4 separate regions of the Homo sapiens genome follow, and regions 1, 3 and 4 are each linked to region 2. Evidence: promoter capture Hi-C in 16 types of primary human blood cells and fetal thymus (Javierre and others, 2016). All regions are on one chromosome and are shown on one strand. Each heading gives the region's core, a stretch centred on a gene start or on the middle of the fragment in contact. The rest is flanking DNA. Distances are from core to core; before and after follow the strand shown.

Evidence for each region. The method cuts DNA at HindIII sites, captures the fragments that hold promoters and counts their contacts. A CHiCAGO score of 5 or more calls a contact.
Region 1: a contact is called between a fragment that was not itself captured here and the fragment with the promoter of LAP3 in region 2, in 5 of 17 cell types (total CD8 T cells, non-activated CD4 T cells, fetal thymus and 2 more). The highest score is 7.2, in total CD8 T cells.
Region 3: a fragment that was not itself captured here is called in contact with the fragment with the promoter of LAP3 in region 2 in 4 of 17 cell types (fetal thymus, total B cells, naive B cells and 1 more); the score reaches 7.3 in fetal thymus.
Region 4: a fragment that was not itself captured here is called in contact with the fragment with the promoter of LAP3 in region 2 in 1 of 17 cell types (neutrophils); the score reaches 5.7 in neutrophils.

Annotation. Positions count from the first base shown.
Region 1 is chr4:18,007,823-18,011,594 of GRCh38, reverse strand. All of the region lies in intron 1 of LCORL (ligand dependent nuclear receptor corepressor like), which reads left to right. Among named protein-coding and RNA genes, the nearest start is that of LCORL, 12 kb to the left of the region's middle. The HindIII fragment of the contact is 5,084 bases long and covers 1-3,772 here.
Region 2 is chr4:17,574,394-17,578,447 of GRCh38, reverse strand. LAP3 (leucine aminopeptidase 3) reads right to left here and starts at 1,250. Exons shown (of 13, transcript NM_015907.3): 1 at 881-1,250. The coding sequence starts at 982. RefSeq lists enhancers at 703-902, 1,243-1,602 and a silencer at 973-1,182. The HindIII fragment of the contact is 2,285 bases long and covers 268-2,552 here.
Region 3 is chr4:18,057,394-18,061,253 of GRCh38, reverse strand. No RefSeq gene overlaps it. Among named protein-coding and RNA genes, the nearest start is that of LCORL, 38 kb to the right of the region's middle. RefSeq lists an enhancer at 3,600-3,759. The HindIII fragment of the contact is 1,996 bases long and covers 1,599-3,594 here.
Region 4 is chr4:17,839,267-17,843,641 of GRCh38, reverse strand. It overlaps NCAPG (non-SMC condensin I complex subunit G), which reads right to left. Exons shown (of 21, transcript NM_022346.5): 17 at 3,805-3,966; 18 at 3,433-3,571; 19 at 2,949-3,035; 20 at 1,263-1,332; 21 at 1-340. The coding sequence ends at 217. It overlaps LCORL (ligand dependent nuclear receptor corepressor like), which reads left to right. Exons shown (of 8, transcript NM_001394446.1): 8 at 1-2,455. Among named protein-coding and RNA genes, the nearest start is that of NCAPG, 30 kb to the right of the region's middle. The HindIII fragment of the contact is 4,850 bases long and covers 616-4,375 here.

The sequences.
Region 1 (3,772 bases), core at 870-3,369, 430 kb before region 2:
TAAGCAAATATATTTAAGTATAAATAATGATATATTCTGAAAATATTTAGCATTACAGTGCCATTGGTTTATAGGTTAGCAGCAGAAAGTAGGACTGGAAGTATAAATTATAGCTTCTACAAGGAGGAAATTGTAAGCCTTTGAAGTTGTTTTTTTTTTTTTTTTAAAATGGGTAATAAGCATGATCAGATAAGTCAGCTTATTTTCATTTGGAACATCTGTTGTTGGTGCAGGTTTGAGGGCTTTTTGTTTGCAATAGTTTTAAGAAGCTCAAATTAAAGCAGCCCTTTTAAATCAAAACTGGGAAAATGAGCAGTCTTCATTCACTTGAATGTATTAAGACATTCTGCTTGGGCTCTGAACAACTTGAGAAATAAAACAAGGAGAAAGATGGAAGCCAAAATAATCTTTCTATTACCGATACAGGCCAGGTTAGAGGAATAGCTTGATGGGGGAGTCAGGTGGTCTGGCATAGGCTGACTTATCCATCCAGTCCTAGGCTCAGTAGAGAAGCAGAGCTGAATATGAGTCTTTGGAGGTTTGTTCTCCTTTGAAAGCTCAACCCCAGGGGCAAGAGGAATAGAACTGAGCTCTTCCTCAAATCCAGAATCACCAATCGGATAATTCACTTTACTAGCTAAGGGTAAAAAGAGGCTCAGGTTGTGCTTTTGATGCATCCTTCCTCATAGAAACCAGGAGCAAGGGAAAGGTATTGTAACAATCATGGCTGTTAATTTTTGCAGGGTTGTATCTGGGGGTAAGTATACTGGAAACAATACAACTGTTAATATTCTGAAAACAAGTCAAATTTACTTGTTCTGGATATTTTAAAAAATATGTTATGGCCGGGCCCGGTGGCTCACGTTTGTAATCCCAGCGCTTTGGGAAGCTGAGACAGGCAGATCATATGAGGTCAGGAGCTCAAGACCAGCCTGGCCAACATGTACAGAAACCCTGTCTGTACTAAAAATACAAAAATTAGCCAGGCGTGGTGGCAGGTGCCTGTAATCTCAGCTGCTCAGGAGGCTGAGGCAGGAGAATCGCTTGAACCCGGGAGGCGGAGGTTGCAGTGAGCCGAGATCATGCCACTGCACTCCAGCCTGGGCAACAGAGCAAGACTCCATCTCAAATATATATATATACACACATACATACATATATACATACATACATATATATATACACACACACACACAGACACACACACATATATATATGTACCCATACACACATTTATGTATATTTTAGTGTTTGGAACAACTGTATTTTTTAAACTCTCAAAATAAAATTAGTAGGGTTTTTTCTTCTTTTTAAATTAACTAGATTTTCCACAGGCCTATGTAAGATACTTAAGTAAAATGCATGTTTGGTTAGAAGGAAACCCAGTGCTCTCTTCTGTATTATAATTTTCAATTAACTTTTTAAACTTAGAAGGAATTAGTGTAAAAGAATAGAGCACTGTTTACATGGAAAAAAAGCAGGTACTCTGACAAATAGATTGTTGTTTTAATTAGCTCTGATTATAGGTGCTTACACAGTTTATTCACTGGTGTCTCTTTTTTTAAAATATAATTAATTGTTCTTCAATGTCTTCTTCCTCCTCCCTTTCTGAACAGCTCAGTACTAAAACATCAAGTGGGAGAAAACAAGGGTAGGTATCCACACTGGGTGGGGTGCGTGGGAGGCAGAGCCACATCGTCATGTAAGAGGAGTGGGATCTCAGAACCTTATAGGGTGAGGAGGGTGTCCATGGGGGTTGATGGAATGAAGGGTAAGGAGCACCTCTCCATTGGAAGGCATGCTAAGGCAGGGTATTGGAGCCCAAGCAGGGTGATATGGTATCTGTGAAGGAGAGTGGCCTGGTATGGGGGAAGGTCAGCTGGTCCCAGCAAGGAGGACATCTACTTGGGGTGGGATGTCATCCTGCATGAGCTCTCAGGGCCCCAGTAGATACCAGGGGGTAGGGAGTGACCCATGTAGGATTGCAGCCTGGTGTAGGTATATTAAGGCTCAAGTGAGATGAGGAGGGAGTCCATACATAGAGGTATCTGAGTCCAAGGTATTAGAGCCTGAGGGTAAAGGGAGGAAGGCCTCTCAGTGGAGCTCGGTACAATATGGGATTTCATAGCCTGAGCAGGGTAGGGAGGATATTCTTGTAGGAGGGATGCCAGGCATGAGGAATAGGGACCTGAACAGGGTAAGGAGATTATATACATGGGGTAGGGATTTTGGGGCCAAGAGAGGTGAGGAGGGTGTCCGTGTAGGGAAAGAGACAGCTACAGTGGGAGATTGGTTACGTACATGAAGATTGATCAGTATTAAGAATAATGGGAGCCAGGCTTCTCATTGTCTGAGAAGGGATTTACTAATATGAAAGTAGGGAAAATTAGAATGCTGTCTGTAGTGTTGGATAGGAAATGAAGTACTTGTGCGAACTCATGGTTTTCATCATATATAGATATAGAAATGTATGTGTATGTATACATACACATGCCCTATACTGGTCATTGAGAAGGGGCTTAGGAGCAGTGGCAGTACGGTAGCAGTGAGCATAGTGTATTACCGTTAATTTCCTGATTTTAATGGTTGTTTTTGTGAGAGAATTGGGAAATACTAGGAATTCAAGAGTGGTGGGTCATTATGTAGACATTTACTCTCAAATGGTTGGGAAGATAAAGGTCTTCCTTACTATACTTAAAACTTTTAAGTTAAAGATTGTTAAAACATAAAAGTATTTAAAAACAGTGTCATTAGTCTACGTATGTTCTTGTGAATTAATCACTTTCAGCCCTAACTACCATAGTTAGTAATATACATGTTGTCTTACAGATTTTCCAGCACCAAGAATTGCCCCTTGAAATAATGATAGATAATATTTATTGAGTGCTTACCGTGTGTTAGGCAGATTCTAAGTTTTTATATGTATTATCACATATAATTTTCCATATGAAATAGTACAATTTTTATCTTCATTTTACAAATGAGAAAATTCAGGCTTAGAGAGGCTAAGTGACTTGCCCAAGTCTTTCTGCCTAGCAAATTCAAAAGTAGAATTCACATCCAGTCTTAACCACTATACCAGGTCAAACCTCATTTAAAAATTAGCAAGTCTCATCCTTTCTGGTCAGATTGTTACATCTAAAACTTTAGTAGTGCTGTTTTCATTTTATTTTAGAACTTGAGTTTCAGGGGTGGGAAAAAGTATTCTGGGTTTAGGCCTCCTCAGCCTTTTATTCCTGTCCTGGAGTGAGAGAGAACCGGGACTTCTGTATTTGAATGCACAGTGTCAGAGATAAGGATTCCCCTGTGATGGATTAATCAGAGAAAATATCCACTAATTTTTTTCTTGCTTTTACAACTGATGATGAGAACATGGAGTTAGTGGGCAAGGCTTTTCCATGGCACAGACTTGCAGTGTTAAGTTTTAGTCTGGATATAAAGTTACCTTCTATCCTAATTCTAAGAATGATGAGCAATACCTTTCCATCTCTTTTGAACTTTCCTCAAGAATGGCAGATGAATTAATAGGATATAGCTAATTGTTTCATTTTAACCTTCCTTTCCTTGTACTTATCTGTGCCAATTTAGGGTATGGAAAAGTAGTTTCTTGGTAAAATCCTGTATTTTTTTTACATACTACTCTTTTGGGATCAGCCCAATAATTACTTTTTTCTTCTTTGCTTTCTTAACCTTTTAGTATTTGTGTTCTGGCATAGCACATAAATAGAATAGAATTTGCCTATGAGTACATATTAGCTTGCTTGTCTAACTT
Region 2 (4,054 bases), core at 1-2,500:
CACCAAAGAAAACGGCCTTCCTTGGCATTGGTAACTCTGCCAGGTTCTAACTTCCCTAAGATTGTTCACTCCCCGGGAATCAATGGAGCCAACTGAGCAACTGTTATCTGGGTAGGCTGTGGCACAGTACTGGAGATAGCACTGGTCAGGCGACTGGTCCCTCCACCACTGAGATACCTGCAGGAGACTGGAGCTCAAGCTCCCCCTAGAACGTTCTTCTGCAGGGACAGTCATCTCTTTCTGGTGCTTAGGCATGACTCCCAAGCTTGTGCTGGTTCCGAGAGCCATTCCCTTTGCAGATCCTTCACATCTGAAGAGCGACCTTCGTAATTTTTTGGAGTTCACTTTTCTTCTGGAAGATGCTCTTAATTCTGGGAAACGTGGGTCTCTCCCCAAAGCCCTTTTCTCTAGAGAGGCATGCTTTTCCTCTAGAAACCCTTCCAAGCTACTTAACTCCCTGACCTTTCACTTCCGCGGGGGAAGGAGCCCTGTGACTCTGGGACCTCAGAAACCCTTTCACCTTGGCAAACTCGGGCTTCCTCCAAGCTCGGATGGGAGCCCCACCGCCGCGTCTTTCCCCGGGTTACTGCCAGGACCGCGGGTGACGACTGGAGCAAGTGCGCGGCCGAGTGGAGCCGGGTAAAGGGCGGCTACAACCATCACCCCCTAGCCCCGAGCAGGGGAATCGCGCCCTCAATACGACCGCTGGGGTCCTCAGCGGCCTAGGCCGATCCCCGCAAGGAGAGAATTTTTCTTTTAAACTGATTTTTGCAACTTGGCTTGGGCGCCCAGGACACCGCGGCTTCGACCAGCCCCGCAGCCCCAGTAGCCCACGGGCAGGGCCCCAGCGGCGGACCATGAGCGAGCCGCCGCCTCTCACCTTCGTCATGTCTGCGGTGGAGAGACTCCGGCTCCCGAAACGTCTCACGGCCAGACGTCGGACGACTACTCGCCCCGCAGCCGGAAGAGGCAGCAAGAACATCTTGTCGGCTCGGCCCCTCGCACCGCCCTCCAGCGAGCACGTGGAGAGCGGTGGGCGGGCGCGCCTTGGGGCGGGGCTTTCGGGGCGCAGACGGCGTGCGCGCGGACTGGCTCGGGCGCCGGGCGAGCGGACGTGCGTCTAGGGGGCGGGACGGATGGGCAGCACCGGCCGACTGGACCGCTGGGATCAAACCGCGGTTGTGGAGGGGACTCAAGGGTGCGCCCGCATTCGTGTGCGCCCGCATTCGTGTGCGCCCGCATTCGTGTGCGCCCGCGCATGCGGGCGGGGGCGAAAAGGCGGGGCTTCCGGACGCGGTTGACAGTCCCGGGAGCAACGCGAAGTAGAGGGGCGGGACCGATATGGTGACGTCACACGATGGGTGGGGCGGAGGCGGGGCGAGTTCTGCAAGCGGGCGTGGGCGGAGCGCTGGGCAACTCCCGGGAAATAGAAACTGAGTGCCAGAGCTTGTTGTCAAGGTTGCTGAATAGACGACTGCATAGTGAAGACACTCCCACTGAGTTTTCGTTTGTTTGTTTGGTTTTTTTGAGTCGGAGTCTCGCTCTGTCACCCAGGTTGGAGTGCAATGGAGCGATCTCGGCTCACTGCAACCTCCCGCTGCTTAGTTGAAACGATTCTCCTGCCTCGTCCTCCCGAGTAGCTGGGATTAGGGGCGCCCGCCACCACGCCCAGCTAATCTTTGTGTTTTTTTGTTGTTTTTTTGGATTTTTTTTTTGAGGCGGAGTCTCGCTCTTGTAGCCCTGGCTGGAGTGCAGTGGCGCAATCTCGGCTCACTGCAACCTCCGCCTTTCGGGTTCAACAGATTCTCCTGCCTCAGCCTCCCGAGTAGTTGGGACTACAGGCGCCCACCACCACACCTGGCTAATCTTTGTATTTTTAGTAGAGACAGTGTTTGGCCATGTTAGCCAGGCTGGCTTTGAACTCCTGACCTCTGGTGATACACCCGCCTCAGCCTGCCAAAGTGCTGGGATTACTTACAGGCGTGAGCCACCGTGCCCGGCAACTCTTTGTATTTTTAGTAGAGACGAGGTTTCACCATGTTGTCCAGGCTGGTCTCGAAGTCCTGACCTCGTGATCCACTTGCCTCGGCCTCGCTAAGTGCTGGGATTACAGGCGTGAGCCACCGCACCTGGCCTGAGTTATTTTTATTCGTGTCCTTTCATCTGTTCCACAGGTGCAACGGTGTAAATACTGTTTTTGAAAATGATGTAACACTATTAGGTTCGTTGACTCGTGCACATAGCAAGTCAATACGCCCAGACACCAGGGTTGCAGCAGAGAAAGAGGTGTAATCGTGGAGTCGCCAAAGGAGGAGATGGGAGGAAACCTCAAATCCATCTCCCTGAGGAATTTGGGGTCAAGGTTTTTAAGGGTTTTGGAGAGGGCTATAGTGTGGAGATCGTTGATTGAAGAGTGCAGGGTGAAGTCATGGGACAGGGCGTTGAAGAACCTGTATTCTTAAGCTGACCCCATTCCTCTCTGGGGATCTTCAAACTGGTAGCTGGAATTCAAGGTCTGAAAAATATCTTAAGCGATCCTTAAACAGAAAGCTTATGATTCTAATGTCAGAGATCCTGTCTATAGGAACAATGGGAATGCAAATGGTCAGTATGTAGTGCTAGGTGACTTTTAGCAACAAGGAAGTGGGCCAAAGTACAGCCTGATTAATGCTTAATTATAACTATATTTCTGCCTAGAACTTGGCATGAAATTTTTGTCAACACAGTGGGGATGGTTTCAATAGAAAGTTTTCAAGTAGTGCTCAATATTTTTATATATTTTTATTTTCTGTAAAGCGTTTTGTTTTTTTTAATTCCTTATTTTTTACTTTTTTTTTTTTAACGGAGTCTTGCTCTGTCACCCAGGCTGGAGTGCACTGGTGTGATCTCAGCTTATTGCAACCTCCACCCCTGGGTTCCAGCGATTCTCCTGCCTCAGCCTCCCAAGTAGTTGGGATTACAGGCGCCCGCCAACACGCCTGGCTAATTTTTGTATTTTCAGTAGAGATGGAGTTTCACCATGTTGGCCAGGTGGGTCTTGAAGTACTGACCTCAAGTGATCCACCCGCCCTGGCCTCCCAAATTGCTGGGATTACGGGCGTGAACCACCGCGCCCGGCTGGTTTTAAATTTCTCATTGTAAAAAAGTACACAGCTGAATGCAACTCGGAGAATATGGGTAAGCACGAGGAGGGATACAAAAATTGTTCTTAATAATGACACCAGCCAGCTGGGTGCAGTGACTCATGCTTATAATCCCAGGACTTTGGGAGGCCGAGGTGGGAGGATCGACTCAGCCCAGGAGTTCAAGACCACCCTGGGCAAGGTAGTGAGATACCCATCTCTACAAAAAGTTAAAAAATTAGCCAGATGTGTGCCTGTAGTCCCGCTAATGGGGAGACTGAGGTAGGAGGTTTGCTTGAGCCTGGGAGGTTGAGTCTGCAGTGAGCCATAATTGTACTACTACACTCCAGCTTAGGTCACAGAGCAAGACCCCATCTCTTTTTAAAAAAATTACACCACTGTTGATCTGATTGCAATTTTAGCTGAGGTGCAGGGGTGTGGGGAGGCTTACACCAGCTGCAGTGAGCAAAGTCTTCACCTTGAGCTCAGTTGCAGGAAAGAAAGAATGTCTATTTCACTCTCCAAGAGCTAGACACTCCAGAGGAGAGATTTGATCTTCCTCTCTTGAAGGCTGAGTGGGTTGGACTGGTAGGTCCACTCTGGCTTCCACCTTCTCTAGATAGTTAAAATGGAGTTGCATCATAAACTCAATAAACTCACCAAATTTTATCTATATTTGCTCCAAAGACAGCGAAATCTTTACATTCACTTTACAGCTCTTCCCTCCTTCCAACGTGATAGATCAGGCCGCAGTTTCTGAAACTAAAAAATGGAATGCGAAAACCTGTCCCCTCCTTGGTATGTGAGTAGAGGGTCTCTGAGCTTCAGAGGCATCCAAGCCTCAGAGCTGTAGGTTACCCTTGTCTGTATCTGCTCAGCTGAATTTATTACCTGTTTTATTGACTTGCGGGTCCAGCCTGAGACTCTGGTGT
Region 3 (3,860 bases), core at 1,347-3,846, 480 kb before region 2:
CTTACATTTATGATCAACTGATTTTTGACAAGGGTGCCAAGACTATTGAATGGGAAAAGAATAGTCATTTCAACAAATGGTGCTGGGACAACTAGATATCCACACACAAAAGAATGAAGGTGTACCCTTCATGCCATTTATAAAACTTAATTCAAAATTAAGATGTATATAATTTTTCAAATGATGGACTGAATAGTGTAATAAATATGGCTGAAAATAAATATGTTAGTTGGAAATGTAAGTCAACTTACACTCCCAGAACACTGTATAAAAGGACAAAGAGGAATGTATTTTCAAAACTTCAGGAAATACTTCAACTGGATTCAGAAGTTTAGAACATATTTAATAGGATTTTTCAGAAATAATAACAAAGAATGGAGAAGAAACAACCAAAGAAATAAAAGAAGAAAATTTCCCCAAATTGATAAAAGATATGAACATTCCAGAGTCTAATGTACATATTATAAGGAGTATAAATACCTATTATAAATTTTCAGAATTTCAAGCAAAAGAAAATATCCTAAAAGCTTCCAAAGTAGGGAGGGGAGGGGCATTAATACCACAAAAGACTGAGATTTATAGTGGCATCAGAATTTGTATTAATTTTAAATGCCAAAGGTAAGGGAGCAATATCTTCAAAGTTCCAAAGGGAAATGTAAGCCTAACAAAACAAGCATTTATATTATTATAAAATGTTTGTATTTGAAAACTAACTGAATATTTACAGACTATCACAAACTTCTCAAGAGCGTAAAACAAAATAGGACTATACAATGGGGTTCATTTAAAAATTAAGGAACACTATTTCCATTTATTCAATATATATATGCATATATATTGAACTACTACCACATGACAGAAAATATTACAATCAGTAGTGACAGTAGTGACACAAAGGTGAACAAGATACAATCTCATTTTATTCATGATTCCATATTTTCAAATTAGCCTACTCCCTAAAATTAATTTGGAATCCCCAAGCACTTTCATTGTCATTTGTGGGAATGCACAGATCAGTGAAAATTTGAGTCACACATTTCCAGCTGAAGTTGAACAAGGTGAATCTCTGTCTTCTTTTTCAGCTGTCATACTATAAATGTGTCTTTTTAGTGGTCTATTTAGTGCCGATTTTTGTGCTTTTTTTTTTTTTTTTTGTAATCTCCTTGTTTAATATGGTCCCCAAGCATAGTACTGAAGTGTTGTCTAGTGTTTCTAAGTGCAAGGAGGTTGTGATGTGCCTCACAGAGAAGACAGGTATGTTAGCGAAGCTTCATTCAGACATGAGTTATAGTACTGTCAGCCACTGAGTTCAATGTTAATGAACTAGCAATGTATATTAAATGGGGTGTTTTTAAACAGAAATGAACATACAACAATGTTATGTATTGATCAACTGATGAAAATGTGACCAGAGGCTTTCAGGAACCTAATCCTGTATTTCCCGGGAGTAATAGTTTTGTATTTGCTAACTCGATGTTTACAGAACTTTACCATGAATAACAAGAATTGACTATTTTGTTTGTCCTCAAGTAGAGTACAAAGTTTTAAATAATATATAATTTTTCATAAATAAAAACCAAGTGAGCCATCTAAAAGCTTGAAAAGTGTAGTTCCAACTATATTCTTTAAACTTTACCAGCTGCTTTCCTTATTCTTTCAATATCTAAAATGTTCTAAATATAGTCTGTCAGTTCTAGCATCCTTAAATTCTTAAAAAGAGGGGAATCTGTATTTATGTTATTGTGTCAGCCATTTTTCTGGGTATTAAATCTCACTTTGTGTATTTTTTAAATTTAAAAATAATGAATTATTTTCCTGGGTGCTTTTGGAATCTTCTGTAGAAATCTCAGTGTGATGATTAATTTCAGGTATTAACTTGACTGAATTAAGAAATAGCTAGATAACTGGTATTATTTTAAGGAGTGTGTCTGTGAGGTTGCTTCTGGAGGAGATTGGCATGTGAATGTGAGTGGACTACGTGGAGAAGATCCACCCTCAATATAGGCAGACATGATCCAAATAACTGGGAGCCCTGACAGAATGAAAACAGAGGAAAGGCAAATTGATCCCTCTCTCTTCTTGAGCCAGGATACACTCTTCTTCTCCAGCCCTCGTACATCAGAAACCCAGGCTCTTCAGCCTTTGGACTTTAGGACTTATATCAGTGGCCCCCACAGGTTCTTAGACCTTCAAACTTGGACTGAGCCATGCTTCCAGCATCCAACTTGCAGAGGGCTGTCTTGGAACTTCTCAGCCTCCATAATCACATGAGCCAATTCCCCTAATAAATTTTCCCTAACATATTTATCTATAGATAGACATAAAGAGAGATGAGAGATAGAGACAGACAAATACATTAATAGATATATCCTATTGGTTTTGTCTGCTTGGAGAATGCTGACTAATACGCTCAGTATATCCTTCATTTCATGAGGGAGAAAAATCTCTGTTTTTTAATCTACAGAATAGTCAGCTTTGCATCTTTTAAAATAAATGTTCTTCTTTTATAAATTTTTATCTTTTTAAGGTCATTTTAATTTTTTTATAAATTTGCCAATTATTAACCAGTGAGAAATAGCAACACAGAAAAAAATTAATTAAATGGAACAAAAAGTACAGTACCAAGCAATGGTGAGATTCATGAAAAGCAACTGGGGAAAGATGTTAAATACTTTGAAAATATATATTCATATTAATTCTTATAAAAATATCTTTTTAAATTGAACTTCCTTTTTATTTCCCTTAAGAAATAGAATACATTCATTTTTATATAAAATAACCTTTTATTGTAATTGTTTCTCTCATTTGCATATTTGGCAAGACTTCCTTCTGTCAACCACTTATCTATAATGCTGAGACATTTGAAAGAGCTAAAACACAAGGGTTAATGGAAGTATCACTCTAACACATACTGAAAGGCATTTCTTATTCTTGCTGTCTTTGAACAAGAAAGCAACTAAATTTGCATACCATTTTGCTAATACAGGTAGTCAAAGCTCAACTGTGAGAGTGGAAGAGGAATTTTAAAAATTCTTTAACTGTTCTAAAATGTACCTTACTGAACCCTACTCCTGTTTTTTAGGGGCAGACTGACCAATATATACCAGATATAAATTAAAAATTAAAAAATATACAATTTTAATAGCATTTTCTTTCAGTCAAAAGTGTCCTAGTGATGAGGTATTTGTGTGGAGGGGGATGGAAAGAAGAGCCCGAGGGGGCTGACATGATTCTCTTTGCTGTTTCACACATCTCTTGCGCAGTTATCATCTCCCTGGTCTGCCATTGTTTTCTTCTGGCCCAAGATAATATAGATTTTTTTAAAACCTTAATTCAAAAGCTGTTTCTTTTTATTGAGGAGTTAACTGGAAAGATTTTATCATTTTGTACAACAGTAGCAGAACTAGTTTTTAGTTCATGAAAAATATAAGATGTTTTTGTTTGTTTTCTGGATCACCTAACCTTAAATATTATAATATTTTGTAAGATTTTCAGAGCAGTTGCAAAAATAAAGGAACTTTTGTATCCTGTCTCAAAAACAGCTTCGTCAAAAGGAAAATCTGGTCTTCTGTGTCAATTTGAGAATCCCAAGCTTTGGGGTGCAAACTACAAGTAATACTTTGAACTACAAAGAAACCACAGGCTTCCAAAATAGTAACCAGCAGGAAGTTTTGGTTTTGGTTTTGGTTTGTTTTGTTTTTGAGACAAGATCTCGCTCTGTCACCCAGGCTGGAGTGCAGCGGCATGATCTCAGCTCACTGTAACCTCCGCCTCCCGGGTTCAAGCAATTCTCATGCCTCAACCTCCAGAGTCGCTGGGTTTACAGGCGTGGGCCACCATGCCTAGCTAATTTTTTTTGT
Region 4 (4,375 bases), core at 1,791-4,290, 260 kb before region 2:
ATAAATCTGTGTGACTGACTGATGCACACTTTTTCTGGACTATAATAACTGATGCTGCTCTACTGCTTTAATACAGGCCAAAGTAACGTGGAAGCGCACAGCAGAAAATCTTCAGAAAGACATCAGGTTTGTTCTGATTTTGACAAGGGTAACTTCTTCTTTATTAAAGCAAATAACTGGACATAATCTTAAAGGATTCCACCTCCATCGTCTTTCCTAACTTAGATCTTCATTGAGAAATTGGGCAAGGTTAAGTTTACTTTTTTCTAGTGCTGCGGTTTTGGCTCGTCTTGGTAGTCTCATCTTCATTTCTGATTCTGGTTCTGGAACTTCATGATCACTAAATAGATGTTGAAAATACACGAATTTAGATACAAGCTTTAAAACCAGTTTATTTATAAATAAAACTTTTTTGTTTCTGACTCACATTCTATCAGTGTTTAATTGATAGCCTGATTCCATTGACTTAGCTTAAAACTAAAATCTCAATGTCAAAAAAACACTGACTTGGCTATCTAGCAAAGTGAATCAGGGAAAATCTAGCTAATGATTTTATATACTATAACAGAACCTGGTGTTATACAGGAAAAAAAGCCACAAACTTGTAATGAAGCTTGTAATTAAACGAGGACCATAACTGTCCAAAAGAGATTTCTTTGAAACTCAAGAAGTGACAAAAAAATTAAGTTCTCTCTCTTGATTTAAGCAATAAATTCCAAAAACATAGTAAAAAACAAGTTTCCCCCCAAAAAAGACAAATTTAATCAACAGTGTAAAACTATGTACTGAAAATACACACAATACAATTTTGCAAATGAATACAAGACAGCTACCAACTTTCAGCTCTAACAGTGGCTTGACTGACAGAAGCCAAAAATAAAACACTCTACCACACAATATACCCAAATTATAGACAGAATTATTCTATCAGTATGTAAGTGTAGAGAACCCAAATATTATCAAAATCAAGAGTTTGCTAACTGAAGATCAAAGAGGAGTCACATCATGTAATTAAAAATTGAAACAACATATTAAAGATAGTACTAAAGACCATGCCAGCTAATAGGCAAAAGCAAACACGCCGTAAGAAGTCAAATGCTCTTGATGATGGAATTTTAGACTATATACCTAAGACAGCTATTTATAGTTTTCACTATCTTGTTATATATTCTCTCTCATTCGCAAGAAAATTAGTTTTTTTCTACTTGTAGAAATAAAAAGTGAAGATAGGCCTCCATATATTCTAGACATGCATGACATACCTTTCAGAGTCGGCTTCAGCAGTCTGACACCTCCTGTTCGTCCTAGCTGAAACTGTCACTTTTCTCTGTCCTTGAAGATAGTATAATTCATTATCAGGATTTATTATCAGTTGCTTTTTGTTTTTAATCTAGTTTCTAGGCTAACTAAATCCTTTGTCTTCAACACAACAATCCTTTCAACACATGTATCTCCTACTTGTTCTAGCCATCTTGGTACCAGTTATCACTGCCACAGAAAAAGGAACCCAAGCAAGATTAAAACTTAATTTATTTTGTAAGCACTAATAATGAGTAAGGGAAAATAAGGAAATTTCAAGCAAGTTAAAAGAAGGCAAATTTTAGTTCAATGTATTTGAGGACAGTATATGAAAAATGTGTTATAATGAAGTACCTCTATTATTGCTATAGCACAAAGTCTGTGGAGACTCATGAAAATTAAGGGTTAGAAAGGTAGGTTAGGTGCATAAACAGGTGCTAAAGAAACAACTTTTTTTTTTCTTGGAAGGTGATAAAACATAGTAAGGTAATAATGGCTTCTTGTAAAATAACATACATGACCAATTCAAATGTGTTCTAAAATATATTTCAATGTAAAAACTAGAACCTTTATATACTGGGGATTATAAGATTCTACTTACTAGAAATTTACAAGGTTAAGGAGTAAGACAAAGTTTGGCTTGTGATGTTTCTCATTTATAAGGAATAAAACAATATGAATATATGAAGTTTGGTCTATTAAAAAGGATGGTGTTCTCATGGTGTGATATACCACAAAAAAAATCTGATCAAAACCAAACTGTTCAATGTGACAGTCTGAAAATTATATACTCTACTTCATTCATGTTACACTTTTTTCTACTCCTTACCTGCTTTTACTAATGCATTTATCCCCAAGAAAACATCCAACAATATGGGACTAATTTGGAACAATATCCAGCAATTGGTATTTAAATAATTTACTGGTTACAAAACAATATTATGACCAGACTCCATTTTAGAAAAAATTAAATCTGCATCGAAAAGGGCCTTAAAAAATAGATTTCTAAAATCAAAATCATGGTTGGCTCATGGGTGGGATTATTAGTGTTCCTTATAGTAGTTTGTCTGGATGTACTTTCTGATTCTTCTGTAATAAGCATGCATTGCTTTTGTAATGAGGAAATAATAAAACAATAAAAAGATCTTGAATTTCAGATTTTTTTCCAAGTGACCCCCTAATAGTCAGCATTTACTTTGCCAACAGATCCCCTATTGTTGGATAGCCCTTGGGAAATAAGTTGGGAAAATATGAAATAAGATGGGAATAGAAGGAAAACAAAGCCCAGAAAAATACTACAGGGATTTTTTAAAAATGCTTAGTTACAGGAAGGATAGAACACAAATAACTAATATAAAACCATCATTTAACCAAATCTTAATTTAACCCAAATTGTCTTTTGTAATATCTTTTGCATCATACTTCTTTCAATCTAAAGCACCAAGAGCAACACTGATTTTATAATCTTTAGACACAAGGCAAAAACTGACATCCACAGAAAGAATTAAAAAGAAAGGATACCAAAGACATTTTAAAAAAAATCTTTATCCCTAAGGAAACAAAGATAAGAAAACTTGCAAAACAAGTATTTTTCATTGGAAGATAAAATTTAAAACTTTTATCATAAAGATGGTCAATCCACACACTACCTCTGTTAGTCTTTAGCTGAGTAGACTTTGATGCTTGGGTTGCTTTTACACCCCTGAGTGGAGTCATATATACTTCTTTATTCTTTTCTATTAAAGGGAATAATACAACAATATAAATAAGATAACCTCATGAAATATTTTAAATTGTCTTTTTAAGACCAGTTTTTATAAAACTGAAATGACAAAGTCCTTCTAGCAGCTAGTGAAAAGTTATAAATCACCCTTTCGAAAATTTGAATATTGGAAAAAGAAGCAAAACTCTTAAAAAGATGGTCATATGTTGAGAAATGCATGCCAAAAAACACTTGAAAAGCAGAATAAACATTTATCAGTAATGCTCTTTCCCAAGAGGATTAATTAGAAAAAAAATTTCATTCATTTCTGATGTCCAACCAAACATGTTAGAGTAGAAAAAAATATGTCTCAGTAAAGATGGAAAAAAAAAAACAGAACCTTATAAATATTCTGTTCAGTATGTGATTACCATCTTCATTTTGGAAAGTAGTTGTAGTCAAGGTGGCATCCTGTGCTGCTTCAGCTTGGTCACCAAATTCTTTATTTCCTTTTTCTAACTGAATCTTGATTTTCTCCAAAGCTCTCAGACATGTCCTATCTTTTACTTGCTATAAAAGAAAACATTATTAACATTTTGTAAACACCGCATTCCCTAATCTTTGAAAATAGTACCAATACATATCAAGTTGTTTAAAAACACTAAATTATATGAAATTTATGAAGAAAATACTTCAAATAAGTCACAATATGCTAACATATGTATAATCTAATACAACCATGTAAATTCTACATGTATAAATATAAACACAAACTAATTTAGAGTAATGAGAAACTACTTTACCTCCAGAATCTCATTCAATAGAACCAGAAGATCTTTTGCAAGATGGCTACTGAGTTCTAAAGAACTCAAGGCTTTTGTATAGACTCGAATTTCTGGCGAGCACGGACTTGTTAAGATCTCATTGCAAATTTTCATAGCCAAATTGTCATGTACTGTTAAGGCCTAAAAAATTAAGAGAAAATTCTCTGTAAATTGAAGATGATTATGATTATTATATAGTCTTACACATCTAACAAATATTTCCAACTAATTTTCTTGCCATAATCCCAAATATAAAATGTCTAAAACCAAATTTAACATCCTCCCTACCCCCAAAATAAGCTCCCCTTCTTGACTTCTTGTTGTGGATGTTGTGATATAGGGCCCAGTTCCACTCCCTTTAGGAAAGATGCACTCATCCCCCAGTTGCTGCATGTTTTGGAGGGTAAAAGTTCCCAGCTGCAGTACTGATCCAGGCTGACAATGGTGGACTTTGGTGGACCTTGTCCAAGATCATACCTCTTCTCCCAAAGATTTGTCCAAATCCAATGACTGGCCCGTGCACAAGTACAGTGTTTCAGCTTGTCTCCAT